Regions from separate parts of the Homo sapiens genome. Here regions 1 and 3 are each linked to region 2. Evidence: promoter capture Hi-C in 16 types of primary human blood cells and fetal thymus (Javierre and others, 2016). All regions are on one chromosome and are shown on one strand. Each heading gives the region's core, a stretch centred on a gene start or on the middle of the fragment in contact. The rest is flanking DNA. Distances are from core to core; before and after follow the strand shown.

The links. The method cuts DNA at HindIII sites, captures the fragments that hold promoters and counts their contacts. A CHiCAGO score of 5 or more calls a contact.
Region 1: a fragment that was not itself captured here is called in contact with the fragment with the promoter of XYLT1 in region 2 in 2 of 17 cell types (neutrophils and non-activated CD4 T cells); the score reaches 5.3 in neutrophils.
Region 3: a fragment that was not itself captured here is called in contact with the fragment with the promoter of XYLT1 in region 2 in 13 of 17 cell types (non-activated CD4 T cells, total CD4 T cells, naive CD8 T cells and 10 more); the score reaches 10.8 in non-activated CD4 T cells.

The regions. Positions count from the first base shown.
Region 1 is chr16:17,178,647-17,181,924 of GRCh38, forward strand. All of the region lies in intron 5 of XYLT1 (xylosyltransferase 1), which reads right to left. Among named protein-coding and RNA genes, the nearest start is that of XYLT1, 290 kb to the right of the region's middle. The HindIII fragment of the contact is 5,584 bases long and covers 1-3,278 here.
Region 2 is chr16:17,469,061-17,472,585 of GRCh38, forward strand. It overlaps XYLT1 (xylosyltransferase 1), which reads right to left and starts at 1,900. Exons shown (of 12, transcript NM_022166.4): 1 at 1,374-1,900. The coding sequence starts at 1,736. It overlaps LOC107987234 (a long non-coding RNA gene), which reads right to left and starts at 1,367. Exons shown (of 2, transcript XR_001752091.2): 1 at 1-1,367. It overlaps LOC105371106 (a long non-coding RNA gene), which reads right to left. Exons shown (of 3, transcript XR_933144.3): 3 at 1,947-3,044. RefSeq lists enhancers at 680-949, 1,070-1,119, 1,894-2,395. The HindIII fragment of the contact is 8,582 bases long and covers 1-2,769 here.
Region 3 is chr16:17,208,876-17,212,293 of GRCh38, forward strand. The region is part of intron 3 of XYLT1 (xylosyltransferase 1); the gene reads right to left. Among named protein-coding and RNA genes, the nearest start is that of XYLT1, 260 kb to the right of the region's middle. The HindIII fragment of the contact is 2,006 bases long and covers 314-2,319 here.

The DNA.
Region 1 (3,278 bases), core at 241-2,740, 290 kb before region 2:
AACACAGTCATACCCATTCATTTACATACTGTCTATGGCCGCCTTAGTATTACAACAGCAGAGTTTCGTCATCCTGAGAGACATATATGTACCACAAAACCTAAAATATTTACTATCTGGCCTTTTAATAAAAACTTTTGAGGCTGGGCGTGGTGGCTCATGCCTGTAATCCCAGAACTTTGTGAGCTCGAGGCAGGCAGATGGCTTGAGCCCAGGAGTTTGAGACTAGCCTGGGCAACATGGCAAAACCCTGTCTCTACAAAAATACAAAAATTATCCAAGTGTGGTGACATGAGCCTGTAATCCCAGCTACTCAGGAGGCTGAGATGGGAGGACCACTTGAGCCTGGGAGGTCAGGGCTTCAGTGAGCTGTGACTGTGCCACTGCACTCCAGCCAGGGTGACAGAATGAGACCCTGTCTCAAAAAAAAAAAAAAAGTTTGTTGAATGAACGGAGCTGGAGGCTTTTATCCTAAGTGAACTAACAAAGGAAGAGAAAACCAAATACATATTCTCGCTTGTAAGGGGGAGCTAAACATTGAGTACACACGGAAACAAAGAAGGGAAGGGTAGACACCAGGGTCTCCTTGAGGAGGCAGGGAGGGTGAGGATCGAAAAACTATCAGGTACTCCATTTATCACCTGAATGATGCAGTAATTTGTACACCAAACCCCCAGGACACACAATTTACCTATGTAACACACCTGCACATGTACCCCTGAACCTCAAATAAAAGCTAGAAAAGAAGTTTGTTGATCCCTCGCCTGATAACTCTCTTTTTTGGGTCATTCACAATCTTCCTCATAACTTTCTGGCATATCCGTCTAATCGAAGTGTCTTCCTGACCCACCCTATCCTCTTTCCATGCAATAGTTTTCCTGGTACTCATTTCTACCTGATATATGACCCGCTCACTTATCTACTGTCTCTTTCTCTAATGAGCATGGAGGATGCACAACAGTGCTTGCTTTCTTTACTGCCATATTCCCAACCCCCAGCAAAATGGCTGGAGTATACCAGGCACTCAATAAGTACTTGCCAAATGACTGAAGAGCCACTTACCCCTTGTATTGTTGCCTTGTTAATATTTTCTCATTTAAATCAACTTTCATTTTATTTATTTATTTACTTTTTATTTTTAAGGAAACTTCAGCTTCCAAAATCTGGGCTGAACATGTTCCTATTCCCTTCTATGTGTTAATATAGATAAACATGGACATTTTCAAAGACTCGCCTGCATTTCTCTTTAAATCATCTTACATACTGCAAGCGGCCCACAGGCCATACTTGGGAAGTCCTGACTCATTGTTAAGGACATGGGTGGGTTTAAGCTCCACTGAGCTCCACTTCTGGGTAGCTGAGCATCTGCTCAAGTCCCTTCTCTTGCAAATGGGGACAATGAAGGTCCCATCTCACCAGATGGCTGAGAGATTAAAGGAGAACATAGAAGAAGCACTTAGCACCTGCAGAAACTCAGTGGCAGGGAACTCTCAGGGGTGGGGCCATCTCCCGGTCGCTCAGTTCATGACAAAGCAGTGCCCCCTTGGTACTGCAGCCATCACTGTCATGAAGCCTGTCTGAGACACTGCCCCAATTCCTGAATGGTTGCACCACAACCCAGCAAAGCAATTTGGATTAATGGGACTATTTAGCTGTAGGTGTCCAGAGAATGCATTGTTTAAAGTAACTTGTTGGAAACTTCCCCAGGGTGGCAAATTTTAAACAAAGATTGACTCTGTAATCAAAAATTGCTTCTGCTTGGCCTTAAACCAGATTCCGGCATCCTGAAGAGCATGATTAGACTGAGAAAGGGTGGCAATGTTTGTGCCCCTGGCTCGGTTTGCCAAGTAATGTTGACTGATGAATACAATTAAATTGCACTGAGGAGAATCCCTCCCTGGAGGAGAAAGGACATAGGAGACGGGTGATGGCTTTTAGGGGCACAGTTTTTCATTCCTTCTCCATAAGGGAACAACCACCATTGTGGGATTCCCCTTCACCCCCTACCATGGGAAAACTGGCCAGTACTACCAAATGGCCTTCCCCTTCCCATTCTCCACTTTTGGATTAACTGGTCTTATAGGCAGTGGGCCAAGACTAGATTCCAGGTTCTAGAGACACTCCATCTGACCTTCATGGGCCTGCTTCACCTAAGCTGAGTGGGAGTGGGAGGAGGCAGCAGGGGAGTCTCATGAACCATGAAGACTTTGCTCTCTGCGTTGGCTTCTGTTCCATGATGATTTCCTAGGAAGCTGACCTGCCCAGATGTCCAAATCACTTTCTGATATTGCCTGGGGCCACCAGGGGAGGGTCAGAGGCAGGCCACTTGAGCATGGGGATGGGGTGAGGGTTGGTGAGGCTGGGAATTGGAAGGAAGTTTCCCACTTGAAATTTCAGGTAGATTGCAGTTGCATTCAAAAAGTAACTGGAGAAATGCACTTGATTTTTCAAAGTAAGTGGAGAAATGGACTTGAGAAATGGAATATGTTGTTTCACCTCATTGGGGTAGAGAAGGCCAGTAAACACTAGGGCTGTCTTCAAACAGCCTTGCAGCAGGGAGGGAATATGGGGGCCCAACTACAGGCAAAGAAGGCTCAGCTCAAGGCAACTACCTTCCTCACTCTCATCACGATCAGACTTCCTCAAAGGCAGGTGCCCCCTGCCCAATCTGCATTTCTGTATTAGTACAAGGAATAGAGACATAAAATATAAGAGGAAGAAAGAAGGAGAGAATAAGGAAAGTGACCACACAAGGCCAGACCATGTTTTTGTCCAGAATTAATAACTATACAGGATTATTAATTATCATTGTCATCACTACCATTATCATCAAAAAATTTCCTTGTTAAAAAATGCCCAATTCCGGATTAGGTCCTGTGTTCCACTATCTTTCATGTTTCTAACAATCCTATGAGGAAAGTACCCTGGGGAGGGCACTCTAGCCTGCTGCCCATAGCAGGTTCTCCTCTGCCCATCTCTCTCCTACATTTACCCAAAGGGAGGAACTGAGGGTAGGATTACTTAGTGCTGGAGAGATTGCTTGAGACATGGTTATTAGTGGGCTAGATATCTGTTCTGTGAACCCTTCCTCCTCCCAAATGAATTGCACTTCTTTTTTTTTTAATGTTTCTTGCCTCAGGCCTGGGTGGTACTTAAGCCTCTTGGGGCCACGATGAGTTACCCCAACCGCTTGATGCAACGGGGTGGGTACAGTAAGCTAAGGTCTCCCTGGTGGATTCAACCATCTCTCCTTGCTTTGTATCCATCAGTATGACCAA
Region 2 (3,525 bases), core at 650-3,149:
CTCCCTGCTACCCACACAGCAACGTGAAATGCCATCACATCACGTCTTGGGACTGGCTCAGTTCTCAGGCATGAAGAGCTGCACTCCGGCAGAAAGGGTCGCACAGACTCCGAAGAAGTTTAGCAGCTCAGAAAGCATCACGCTGTGTACTAAGGCAGTCTTCAGTGAGGACTTCCAAAGTGACAAATGATAGAAATATGCATTCAGTCTTCAGGATCCTGAAACCATCCCCCTGGTGTCTAATATCCTTTAACGGCTAGGCAAATCCTTGCAGACAAGTAGTGTGATGAAGAAACAGACAGACACACAACACATTGGCTATGCCCTAAGGCAGAACTCACGCCCCTGGAGAACTGAGACCTTGGCTCTGAAATGGGGACTCCGGCCTCCTGCCCCATGTGCTCCTGCTCCTAGCTCAGTAGGCTGGGCAAGGCAGCCCAGAGAAGGTGGGAAAGGTATCCCTGGAGAAGTTAGGGACAGGGTAGGAAGACAAGTCAGTTCCCCACCCAGCCACCCAGATGGCCCCAGATCTGCGGAAAAAACAGTTTCAGAGCCCTGACTGTTCACACCCACGAAGGGCAAAGTAATCCCATAGGAGTGGAAGCCCTGACGGTGTGGTCGGACACACAGCTGGTGACCTGAACCGGCCGCAACAAGACAGAAAGACAGAGACAACCAGCTAGGAGAAGGAGCCATGCCCTGAAACTGGAGATGGGGAGGAGATAAAGTCACAGAGGGCATGGGAGACGGCAAGGTTAGAGACAGAGAAGGTGAAGACGGAAGGCTCAAACATCCAGAGAAGAGAAACAGAAGACCCAAAGTAAGACCAGACACCCCGGACTGAGTATTGATTCAGGGGCATGGTCGGGGACTTGGGACGCCCAGCTCAGCCCTCATCGCAGGCCAGGACGAACAGAGGGCTCAACTGTCTGCACCCAGCTCGGCAAAAACCAGAGAGATGCTGCTGCGACAACCGCCCAGGAACAGCGGCTGAGGATCCGGGGAGATCCACTCACTCAGGCAGGGAGCGAGTCACCAAGACCTACACGCACGGAGCAAGTCACCTGGGGTCCCCAGCAAGAGTGATGGGGAACAGGAACCCAGCCAGGCTCCGGTAACCCCCAAAGCGCCCCCGCTGGAGAAAACTTCCCCCAGACCCCAAGGGGTCCGTGCTCAGACTCTGAAAGGGGCAGCCCACGACCCCTGAGCCTTGGCAGGGACCCCACCCGGCTTCCCGGGGCAAGAGGCGATGTGGAGTCGGTAGGCTTGCAGAGTCCCAGTCTGATGACCGAGTTCAAGGGCTAGGGGGGCGTGGGGTCGGGCTGCCTTCCTCCCTCCCTCGCCGCGGGGCGCGAGCCGAAAGGGCATCTTACCAGAGCCCGGGCGGGCAGTGCCCCCCGGCTGGCCGGCTGCTGTCCCCGCGGTTCTCCGGGGCCGCCTCCCCGCGCCCGCGCCTGGGGCCCCCGTCCTCCTCCTCCTCCGCCGCCGCCTCCTCCTCCTCCTCGGGCTGCAGCCGGCTCGGCGGGCAGGTCCCGGCGCTCCCGGCGCGGGGCCGGGGCCGGGGGCGGCTGCTCCCCGCCGCCGACCGCTGCGCCCCCGCGGCGCTCCCCGGCCCCGGAGTCGAGGCTGCTGAAATTCCACACGACCAGCGTCTGCAGCAGCAGCACCGTGAGCGCCGCGAGCAGCGCCGAGTGCGAGCGCCGGGCCAGCCTCCGGGCGCACGGCGCCGCCACCATCTTCGGAGCGCGGCCGGCGAGCGAGGCGCGGGGACCCCGGCACGCTCCGGGCCGCCCCCGCGCTCCCCGCAGCTCCCGCGGCCGCCGGCTGCCGCTCGGGCTCCCGCTCGGGCCGCCGCCGCCGCCCCCCTCCCCACACCCCTGTCCCCGCTGGAGGGGAGGGTGATGGGGAAGGCGCCGGGGGGACGCGGGCCGAGGCGGAGAGGGCGGGGCCTGGGGGAGGAGCCGAGGGAGGAAAAGGAGGAGGGAAAGGAAGGGGGTGGGGGCGATCAGAGAAGACAGACACCCCTCAGGACGTAGTGGGAGTAGGATGGGGGGCGAGGGGGACAATTCCCAAGGCGGAAAAAGAGAGGCAGGGGCCGCGAAACAGGGGACCTTTGGTTGAGGGTGGGCCCGCTCAGAATCCAGGGGAGGTCAGGAAGAGAGGGGGTCCCGAGGTCCTGTTTTCCCTGTGGGCCGCTGGAAGGAGGCAGTGCGTGGAGGAAGCTCCTAGCCCCGGAGTTCGCGGTCCAGGGATCTTCTGTCGGTACCAGACCGGTTGGCAGGTGGACACGTGAGAAACATTTCAGGAGTGTCAGAGCCACAGTCTGATCCCTTCATCCTGGGCTTGAAGGGGTGGGGAGGAGGCTTTGGGTGAGTTTCTGGAGTTAATCAGCACAAGCTCTGTGAGTGACTCCTGAATCACACACAATCCCCGGTGCCAACGATGTACTAAGTGTTCACTGAGTCACTTCTCTGGTCCCTGAGGACTCACAAGCCAAGAGACTCCAAACCCAGTTGGCAAGTGGTATAGCGGCAAAAGGGAGACCCGTGGAGTTACTCAACCTTCGCAGGATGCAAGCCCCAAAGGCTGGCCCCGCAGCCTCCCAGCGTGTCCTTTTCCCCATCCATCCTGAAGTCCCCCTTCCTGTCTGCACAGGGCCCAGGTCCTGGGGAAACAGGTCTTGCTCTTGAAAGTGGAGTTCTTTCCCATCCTGACTGGTCTGTCCCGGTGACCTTGAGCCAGGAGGAGGAGGACTCCTCCCTGAGCCCAAGCTTTCTCCTCTGTCGTTTAGGCAGAATGATCCCAATGGACTCAAATTTCATCCCGAGCCTTCTCTGACTCAGTCTTTCTGGTTTTTCCCTCCCTTGTCCTCTTGCCCAGGGCTTTATACACAGCAGCGCAGAACAGTGAGCATATGGGATGGCGTTGGTGTCCCATACGGGACCTAGCACTCTGGGAATACAACAGCAGATCAAATCAGTTTGTGAATTGAGGACTTGGCGTGAATGCTTCGCATCTTGTCTGCTGTGCTTTTTCACCTCATCCTAATTTACAAAGAGAAGAAAGTGGAGTGTAATGAAGGCTCATCAGACAATGAGGCAGGGAGTGGGAAGAGATTGTTTCATCCACTCCACAAGCATCCGTGAATACAAAGCTTGTGTCAGACACTGGGCCAGGTGCACGCATCCAAAGGTGAATGAGGTTTAATCTCATCTTCAGCAAGCCTGAGGTCTAGAGAAGCCTGATGTGGATGTTAATCATTAAAATATAGTGAGATAGGCCTGGGCGCGGTGGCTCATGCCTGTAATCGCAGCACTTTGGGAGGCCAAGACAGGAGGATCACCTGAGGTCAGAAGTTCGAGATCAGCCTTGCCAACATGGTGAAACCCCGTCTCTACTAAAAATACAAAAATTAGCCGGGCATGGTGGCACACACCCCTGATCCCAGCTACTCAGGAGGCTGAGGCAGGAGAATCTCTTGAACCCAGGAGGCAGAGGCTGCAGTGAGCCGAGATCACACCACTG
Region 3 (3,418 bases), core at 67-2,566, 260 kb before region 2:
CACCACGCCCGGCTAATTTTTTTGTATTTTTAGTAGAGATGGGGTTTTGCCATGTCGGCCAGGCTGGTCTCAAACTCTTGACTGCAGGTGATCAGCCCACCTTGGCCTCCCAAAGTGCTGGGATTACAGGCATGAGACACATCTGGCCTATTTTAAGCATTTTTAAGTTTACAGTTTAGTATAATAAATATACTTACACTGTTGTGCAACTATTATCACCATCCATCTCCAGAACTCTTTTCATCTTGCAAAACTGAAACTTTCTATCCATTGAACAATAACTTCCCACTCTCCCCTCCTTCAGCTCCTGGAAAGCTTCATTCTACTTTCTGCCTCTATGAATTTGATAAGGAACCTCATGTAAGTGACATCAGACATTATTCTTCCTTTTGTGTCTGGATCCTTTCACTTGGCGCAGTGCCCTCCTGGTTTGTCCACGTCGTAGCCTATGTCAGAATTTCATTCCTTTTTCAGGGCAAGTAATACTCCACTGTATGCATATAGCACAATTGATCCACTCATCTGTCAATGGACCCTTGAATGGCTTTCACCTTTTGGCTGTTATGAATAATGTTGCTCTGAACATGGGTGTACAAGTACCTGTTTGAGTCACTGTTTCAATTCTTTGGAGTATATTCCCAGAAATGGAATTGGTGGATCATAAAGTCACTATTTGTAATGTTTTATTTTTAGGAGCCCATCCTGCACTTCCTAACTCAGCTATTCCACAGAAGGGGTTAGCCTGGGTCTGCATCCCAGCCCTACCATTTATTAGGAGGTCACTTTGCCTCTCATGCCTCAGTTTCCTCATCTGTCAAAGAGAACTCACCTCTAAGTGATGCTGTAAGCACAGCTATAAATGAGGCAAAATAAAGCCATACAGCCTGATTGTGGAGGAGTTCATGTGGTGTGACTCCGCGGACCTCGCCCATCACACTTGAACTTGTAACTAATCACATGGCTGGAGAGTGTTTAACAGGGACCTGATCCTGAGGACTATAGCGATTGTGGTTTTGTTTTTGTCTTTTTTAAATTCGTAAGACGGGATCTCGCTCTGTTGCCCAGGCTGGAGTGCAGTGGTGTGATCATGGCTCACTGCAGTCTCAAACTCCAGGCTCAAGAGATCCTCCTACCTTAGCCTGCTGAGTAGCTGGGACTAGAGGCATGAACACCACACCTGGCTAATTAAATATATATTTGTAGAGACCAGGTCTCCCTATGCTGCTCAGGCTGGTCTCAAACTCATGAGCTCAAATGATCCTCCCTCTTCAGCCTCCAGAGTAGCTGGGACCAGAGGCATGCATCCCATGTCCATCTAATTTTTTTAGAAAAATTATCTGTAGGCTGGCTGTGGTGGCTCACGCCTGTAATCCCAGCACTTTGGGAGGCTGAGGTGGGTGGATCACAAGGTCAAGAGTTTGAGACCAGCCTGACCAACATGGTGAAACCCCGTTTCTACTAAAAATGCAAAAGCAGGTGGATAACAAGGTCAAGAGTTTGAGACCAGCCTGACCAATATGGTGAAACCCTGTCTCTACTAAAAATGCAAAAATGAGCTGGGCATGGTGGTGCACGCCTATAATCCCAGCTACTCAGGAGGCTGAGGCAGGAGAATTGCTTGAACCCAGGAGGCGGAGGTTGCAGTGAGCCAAGATCACACCATTGCACTCCAGCCTGGGTGACAAAATGAGACTCCATCTTAAAAAAAAAATTATTTGTAGAGATAAGGTCTCCCTATGTTGCCCAGGTTGGTCTTGAACTCCTGGGCTCAAGTGATCTTCCCCCTTCAGCCTCCCAGTGCTGGGATTACAGGTGTGAGCCACCTTGCCCAGTGTGTTCTTAAATGCGATGTCAGAGTTACCCAAGAGAGGATTCACATGCTGCTCACATCGAATGGCATTGAGTCAGGGGGGACTGTGAATCTTTTTTCAATTCTTACCCACCTCTCCTGAATACCCTACCAGCAAACTCTCAGGTCAATGCAAACAAATCTTCAGCAGCACTCCCCTACTGAACTTCCTTTTCCAAAAAGCAGAATCCTGCCCCCAGAACTGGCATCTCCAGCAGGTAACAGGAGTGCCCGGCTAGCACTGAATGCCATTGTTTTTGTTTCACTGATTTCTTCGCATTGTTGCTGTCTCCTCATGGCAAGTGACAGCAAGATTTCCACTTATGGCCATGATGCAAAATTACTTTTAAAATAAAATGTGCTTACATAAAAATAAAGGCGAGTCTATTGCAGTAAAAATACTACAAGAATAATATGGCAGGTGGAATGTGGATATGGCAGAATTGTGAAGGCTGGAGGGATGCGAAGGAAGCTTGGGGAATGTTAATTAGGCTCCATGAGCTTTGCTTCCAAACTAGGATGTGCTGAGTTTGTTAAACAAATGAGAGGAGGTAAAGGCAAAGGGCAGGGGGATACTCAAGCAGCCCCATCCATCCTGCAAGGACCCAAAGGTCCAGACAATGTTTTGATCTTTCTGGATGAGGGCTCCCACTTGCTTTAGGGGCCCAGGAGGGTTTGTCAGGAGTCTCCTGGGGTGGGCTTTTGGGACAGCACCTCCCTGCTAGAGAGACAGAAGTCTGTGGAGAAACACTGTCCTTTTGATTCTTACTCTAATTTGTTGAGTACTTAACATTCATGTGGTTCTTTCACTCATGAGGCTTTTACCTCTTGTAACAATGCTGCAAATGAAAATTATCCCCATTTATAGATAATCATCCCAGGCTCAGAGAGGGTGAGGAACTTGCCCAAGGTCACAGAGCCAAGAGGTGGAGAAGAAATTAGGATACGCACTGTTCTGACGTCAAATACCATGCTCTATGACCAGGCTTTGGCTAGCAAGAATCTGGCATCCTCATCTTCACTCAGGCTCCCATGCTAAGCTTGATGGGAACCAAAGCCTCATGTTCTCAGAATGGCTTCAAAACTATCGTCTCCCCTAGAGCAAGATTTCTCAACCTTGGCACTATTGATATTTGAGGCCAGATAATTCCTTGTTGTGGAGGGGACTGTCCTGCGCACTGTAGGATGTTTAGCAGCATCGCTGGATCTACCCACTAGGTGCCAGTAGCACTCACCTAGTTGTGACAAAACCTAAAATGTCTCCATTCATTGATGTGTGTCCCCCTGGTGGGGGATAGGGCGTGGAGAGGCAAAATTTGCTCCCAGTTGAGAACCACTGTTCTAGGACAAGCTCTCTAGATGTGGTCTCTGATGAGCAGCATCAGCAACACCTGGGAATTTGTTAGCAATGTAAGTTTCAGCCCCAACCCCAAACCTTCTGAATCAGAAACTCTGGGTGTGGGAGACAAGGACTCTGTGTTGTAAGAAGCTCTCCAGGTGATTGTGATACAGGCTCATGTTTGCCTAGGCCAGTGGTTCTTAACCCTGGCTGCACATTTAAAATCATCT